Regions from separate parts of the Homo sapiens genome. Here region 2 is linked to region 1. Evidence: promoter capture Hi-C in 16 types of primary human blood cells and fetal thymus (Javierre and others, 2016). All regions are on one chromosome and are shown on one strand. The core of a region is centred on a gene start or on the middle of the fragment in contact, and the rest is flanking DNA. Distances in the headings are between cores, read along the strand shown. Region 1 holds the start of CFAP161 (cilia and flagella associated protein 161). Region 2 overlaps TMC3-AS1 (TMC3 antisense RNA 1).

Evidence for each region. Contacts are between HindIII fragments. The CHiCAGO score rates a contact against its expected background, and 5 or more counts as called.
Region 2: a contact is called between a fragment that was not itself captured here and the fragment with the promoter of CFAP161 in region 1, in 1 of 17 cell types (naive CD4 T cells). The highest score is 5.0, in naive CD4 T cells.

What each region holds. Positions count from the first base shown.
Region 1 is chr15:81,132,613-81,136,021 of GRCh38, forward strand. It overlaps CFAP161 (cilia and flagella associated protein 161), which reads left to right and starts at 1,658. Exons shown (of 7, transcript NM_173528.4): 1 at 1,658-1,786; 2 at 2,658-2,747. The coding sequence starts at 1,718. The HindIII fragment of the contact is 5,504 bases long and covers 1,430-3,409 here.
Region 2 is chr15:81,397,549-81,400,910 of GRCh38, forward strand. The region is part of intron 6 of TMC3-AS1 (TMC3 antisense RNA 1); the gene reads left to right. Among named protein-coding and RNA genes, the nearest start is that of TMC3, 25 kb to the left of the region's middle. The HindIII fragment of the contact is 518 bases long and covers 1,419-1,936 here.

The sequences.
Region 1 (3,409 bases), core at 408-2,907:
TAATATACTTGTCAAAAATAGCACTAAGGAAGTAGGTGGGAGCAAAGCTGTATCAGTGTAAGGACTTACTGAATGACCCAATCATTAGAACCTTGTTAAAAATGTAGAGACTAGAGCTGCTTTGTTTTATTCTTGATTTTATGAGGAATATGAAAAATACTTAAAAGGAAAAACAAACAAACATGACTTTGGAGTCGGAAAGTTTGGACTGAGTCCTTTCTTTGAGCAACTTTTAGCAGTTTGAATTTAGACTGCTAGCTTCTTTGAGTCTCAGTTTCTGAATTTATCAAATGCAGTTAGTGGTATACTATCTGATCTAACTGCTTTGTCCTATGTGTCCTTCAGAAGTATCCTCGAATGTGGTGATATATTGACAGAGCTGGTGGATTCATCAGAATGTGGGAATGTTCCTATTTTTATTCTACACTTCAGCCTGCCAGTTCAAATCCTTCCCAGTTCAGCTCCAAAGCAGCCCCTCTCCCATCACTCAAAGGCCATCCAATTCCCATTCTCACAGTTCCTCAAGACAGAAAGGATCCTTCAACTCCATGGCCCTTCATCAGCATATATATATATATATATATATATATATATATATATATATATATATATGTATTTTTTTTTAAATTGGAGATGGGGTCTCACTATGTTGCCCAGGCTGGTCTAGAACTCCTGGGCTCAAGTGATCCTCCTGCCTCGGCTTCCCAAAGTGCTGGATTATAGGCTTGAGCCACCACGCCAGCCCATCAGCACATCTTTAATTGCATTTTTCCACAGTCTTCCTTAAGTAATTCGTTTTCATGAACTATCTTTTCTTTTAGACTGGGTTTGCTGAAGGGAGCGGAGGCTCCTGTCTTCCATTTCAGTCATGTCTTACTAGACACTAAATAGAGGTAAATTACTGAATGCATTCAATCTGCATCAAGCCTCCGGTAGTCCTACAGTAACTGGTATCCCTCCCCTCCCCAGAAAATAATATTTTGTTTTATTAATGCTGGCTACAGCAGAGTCTGGTTTTCTTAAGAGTTCCTGCAAATCACAGGTTCGTCCTTTAACTTTGAGACCCAGGGAAGGAGGGAGCAAGGGAGGGAGGGAGGGAGGATGCTGTCAAGTCCGCAAAAATATGGACAACCTCAGAAACCTATAAACAGAAATATACTAACATGGTATATTTCTTACTTTTAAGGCCCTGAAATTATTAATTTTCCTTTCTTCTTTCTATGCGATTTTGGTTTCCAAATGTGTACATTGAGCAGGTATTGTTTTATGATTAGGGCGAAATTGCTGCTGCTGCTGCTGCTGCTGCTGCTGCTGATTACAAAAAATAGGCTGCAAGCAAGCCGTGCTTCCATTTAAAAGCTCCTCTTTGTTGCCTCGACAAGCAAGGGGTACTCGATAGCACTTTTCGGTTAGATTCTAATAGAAAGAAAGCTTTAAATTTCTCTCTCGGAAGCACTTTGTCAGCCAGGGTTTTCCCTCTCGCCCACCCTGCAGTTAAGGAAATCTAAGAGGTGGAAGTGGGGCGGGCTGGAGGGCCACAGACAGCCGCTGACCCAGACGCCCCATCTCCCGCCCCAGGGCGAGGGTGCGCGCTGTCGCTTATTGGCCAGCAGGGTCCCAGACCTTGACCAATCGCCTGGGGCCGGGTCGTCATGGCGACGCGCCACGCTAACGCATGGTGTCGGAGGGAGGCCCACTTGCTGAACAGCAGGGAGCGATGGCGCAGAACGTGTATGGTCCGGGAGTCCGGATAGGCAACTGGAATGAGGATGTCTACCTGGAGGAGGTACGCAGGGTGTGGCCAGGCGCAGACCCGCAGCTCAGGAACTCCCAGACCCTGCTCTAAGTTCAGTCTCCTACTTTGAGCGCCTCAAGCCTCCTCTCTCTCCCAGCATACAGCGAATACCTCTAAAATCCCCCACTTCTCTAAACTCCCAAGGAATCTCACCTGCCGAACTGCAAACCCAGGTCTCACTGACCTCTACTCCGAGCACCCTGACTTTTCTTTCTCTGGGTCCCTTGGCCTCCCAAAGTCAGATGCCTTGACTCTCAAGCCCCTGGCCTGTGTCTCCCGCTTAGTCTAGAGCCCCACTAAGTCCCCCGTATTCCTTAGAGTCTTACAGTCTCAGGCTGCGGGCCAGGTGAGGACACAGGTTCTAGGTAGAAATAATATCCCTCCCCACTCCAACCCTGCCACGCTTGCCCTCTTAAATGACCCTGAGTATTCCTTTTATTGACGTTGTACTCACTCACTGCCTCGTATTCTCCCAAGGGTGGTCTTAACAAGGCTTTGAGCCATTCGTATACGGGTCAGATTGGGGAGGGGTGAACTTTCTAGTGTCAGTCATCATACGGTCAAGGGAAACCCCAGCAGGGGAGACATGGCCTCCAAATGTCATTTAGGATGGTATCTGGCTGGAGTAATTACTGGTGATGTTTCTTTTTCTTTGTTTTGCCTTTCTCATTTTTCTAAACATTCTATAATGTAGTAAAAATATTAAAGTAGTGCTAAAAACGTTCCATCATTCCAATTATGCTCACATCTCTTTTTTTGTACTCAAATTTTGCTTTTTCAACTTGGAAGAGCTTCTGACCTAAAAGTTATTAATACTAACATCTATATTATTCAGGGCTACTTTTGTTGATTTTCTGTTTAGGAGCTCATGAAAGACTTCTTAGAGAAGAGAGACAAGGGGAAACTTCTCATACAGAGAAGTAGAAGACTAAAACAGAATCTCTTGAGACCGGTAACTTTTTTTTTTTTTATTACACTTTAAGTTTTAGGGTACATGTGCACAACGTGCAGGTTTGTTACATATGTATACATATGCTATGTTGGTGTGCTGCACCCATTAACTCGTCATTTAACATTAGGTATATCTCCTAATGCTATCCCTCTCCCCTCCCCCCACCCCACAACAGGCCCCAGTGTGCGATGTTCCCCTTCCTGTGTCCATGTGTTCTCCATTGTTCAATTCCCACCTATGAGTGAGAATATGCGGTGTTTGGTTTTCTGTCCCTGCGATAGTTTGCTCAGAATGATGGTTTCCAGCTTCATCCATGTCCCTACAAAGGACATGAACTCATCATTTTTTATGGCTGCATAGTATTCCATGGTGTATATGTGCCACATTTTCTTAATCCAGTCTATCGTTGTTGGACATTTAGGTTGGTTCCAAGTCTTTGCTATTGTGAATAGTGCCGCAGTTGGTGGGACTGTAAACTAGTTCAACCATTGTGGAAGTCAGTGTGGCAATTCCTCAGGGATCTAGAACTAGAAATACCATTTGACCCAGACATCCCATTACTGGGTATATACCCAAAGGATTATAAAACATGCTGCTATAAAGACACATGCACACGTATGTTTATTGAGACCGGTAACTTTAAATTCAGACATTGTTTTCAA
Region 2 (3,362 bases), core at 428-2,927, 260 kb after region 1:
GTCTGGGTTGGATGGAGGCTTGAGTGAATTATCACAGCACAGAAAAATGTTATTTTCTCTGGACAATTTAAAAACAGTGGTGACCACTTTCTACTTTTGGTTTCCCCATGATGGCAAAAAGAAATACAATTGGACTCTAAGATGATGGTGACTCATGATGCCTGCTCCCTTCATTGCTGCAGATCTTTGGTTCTTATTGTCTATTATCTACCTTGTCCCTTCCTTCTATAATCTCCCCAGCTCCTGATATCTAAAGGCAGGACATCTCAACTCTCTATCTTAAACTTAAACCAGTTGCCCATCTTCCTGCCATTCAGCTTTTCAATGTAACCGTCAAGTACCTGCAGCCTTTCTTTTCTGGTTCTGCATTGGATGATTGATGTTTCATTGACCTTGTGGAGGAAAGAGGGTACAGGTAAGCAGTAAAGACTCCAGGATACCAGTGATGACATTATATGATGCTAAAGAGTGTGTGTATGTGCGCGCGCGTGTGTGTGTGTAATGTGCACAGCCCTTTTTTACTTTTGAGACTCCGAGACCCAGTGATAAGTGAATTGAGCAAGGCTGCACTAAGAAGACAACTGCTGCCATCTTGGGCTTGAAGAGATTCATCTTAGAATACTGAAGGGAGAATTTTCCCCTCCACCTTTACAATCCCTGATTTGGAAAGATCTTCTCCTGTGATAATTAACTGGTCCCAGGCGTTGCCCTACTCAGCAGCAATGGATGGATAGGAGGGAAACCTGGAGATAATAATGGCAGCTTTCAGGGAATCCCATCCTGTGAAGACGTTACCTTCAAGACCAGAAAGAAAAGTTATGCTCTCGTCATTTTCCTGCATGTTGGCCCTACTACTCAGCCCTTTACCCCTACCCCATCCTTCCCAACAATGAGGAGGTGTTGAGTAACCTTGTTACCTTGTTAAAGAGACTGAATGATGCTGCCACCTTTGTCCTATAAGGAACTACTTGGTTTGAATTTCTCCAAGTCTATGCCAAACTCCTGAATGAGTTTGGCCCGCCTTTGGTTTATACTGTTTAGCCAGCCCTGCTCTAACTAGGCTCCTGTCCGCCTGAGAAATATGTCCCTTTCCAGACACCTGTTTGTCCTCTCCATAGCCCTGGCATGACCTGGGCAATGTGACACCCAGAACATGCCTGGATCTGTACCTTATCACTAACCAAATCCATGTAGGAATACTAACTATTTGAATTCCTTAGCTCAGTATCTGAGTCTGAATATGCATAGATTAATATTTCCCAAATAATCTGATTCCATTAGCGATAATTTGAGAAATATCTTGGGACAGTTGGAAAGACTTCAGACCTTTTCCTTAGTCAAACTGCAATGCTTTCAAAAGTTTTCTAGCACAGTTTGGCCTGCAAACAAATTTAGTTCATTTCAGTAGGAGGTAACAAAGCTTTCTGTACCTGCCTTCTTCTGGTGTAGTTCTTGTTTGCACTTTATTTCTCTGCAATGTCATGGGGGGAAGCCAGGTAATAAATAGAGACAGATAGTAAACAGACTCCTAAGTATTTAATGGGGTTGGTCGGATTTACGGCTCCAGTGTCGTAACACAGAATTACCCAATTCCTTCAGCTGCTTAGTAAGTTTCACATTATCACACAAATCAAGGGTGACTCTCTTAAAGTTGTGGTGATCATCTGAATGCTTTTCTTCATTAGATGTCAAAGTAGGAGAAAGACAACTATTTTGGAAGGTTCTCAGACGTGAAACACTGGAAGATATCTGTGAATCTACCTCCCACTCTCTATCACCATGCCCAGGAATGTATTTCCTTTGTTATATTGACACTGGCAACTCCCAGATCTGATTGCCTTGATGTAGCCTGGAGCTACGAGAGGTCCTTAGAATCTGTTCTTGCCAGTGGCCCCTTTGCAGAATTAATAAAAAATCTTATGCACAGTAATAGCAAAGCTTTGCTCCCTCTACTTGACTTTTGGGAAAGCTTGGCTCATTGGTAAACATGTAATGTTCTTTATATTAAAACAGAGTTCTGATACTCTCAGAGTTGGGGCAAATTGTTAGCCTTTCACCAAAACTTGAAAGGCTTTCTACGTTAAGATCCAAGCTCCTGCCTTATAAATATTCTGAATTACAGTCAATTTTGGAATACTCTTGTGGCAGAGAAAGTAACATGCACCAAATAGTCCAGGCTTGTGTTGAGTTAGAGCCATGCGACAAGTTCTGGCCAATAATATATGTGTGCGAGTGATACATGCCCCTTCTGACAGAAGCAGTGAAAAATTTATGAACAATATTTTAGTTTTCTTTCCTCTACTATGGCAACTTAAGTTGTGTGAGCCAGATAATGGAGTTTCAGGATGATGGTTCCTACTCAGCCTGGGTCCCTGAGTGACTGTATGGAATAAAGCTCTGCCGACACTTGTTAGACATGACCATGTGTAACAAATAAGCCTTTGTTAAGCCACTGACCATTTGGAGTAATCTGTTACAACTGCAGAACAGAGCATATCCTGATTAACAGAATTCCTACTTCCCAAATTTCTGCTTCCTTTCCTGGCTGCATAATTTGTCCAAGCTGTCTGTCATCTACATACTCCTTTACCCTATTTATGGCTTATACTATCTCATCTGACCTTCATGGTCTATCCTAAACGTCATCTCCTTCCCAAGGATCTCCGGTTTCCAGTTGGATGGGATACCCTCCTCTTCTCTGCTAATAGAAAGAGTAGTATACCTCTCTTAAGGCAATCATCTCATTTGCTTCTCTTCCTCATCCATTTAACTTAGAGCTCCTGGAAGGTGAAGACCATGTTTGATTCACCCAAACACCCCAAGGCCCCAGCTGAACATTTTGTGGTAGCTACAGGTGGATATTATTTAGTTTGAATTGAGTTTTCTCCTGAGGTTAGCAATGCGTAGGCCAATGTAGACAGCAATGTGAAATGATTTTAAATAAGTTATCTGCCTGAAACATAGCAACAGGGAGAGAAGAAAACAAAAAAAAAAACCCTTTACATGAGTAAGTGTAATTCTCAGAAAATAAGAGAAATAGCATATCAGAAAAAGACATAGGAAGCAAAAGTGATGCTTGCTGAAGAACATCAGAATGGGAATTAGGAAACAAACTTCTAGATTTGACTCCTTTGAAAACTAATTCTGTGATCTCTCTGGAACTCAGGTTCTTCATCTTGTACGTGGGATCAGAGGCTGGACGATAAATTAATTAAGGTATTTCATTCTGGAATTTTACTTACAGAAACCCCAGGTGCTGAGATGTTTTCCAGGACTAGGATGAAGTCTCCATCTTGTGGCTAAATTAAGTTCTGCAGTCACTCAACATTATGAACGTCAAGATCCAAGTCAATTTAGTGGAG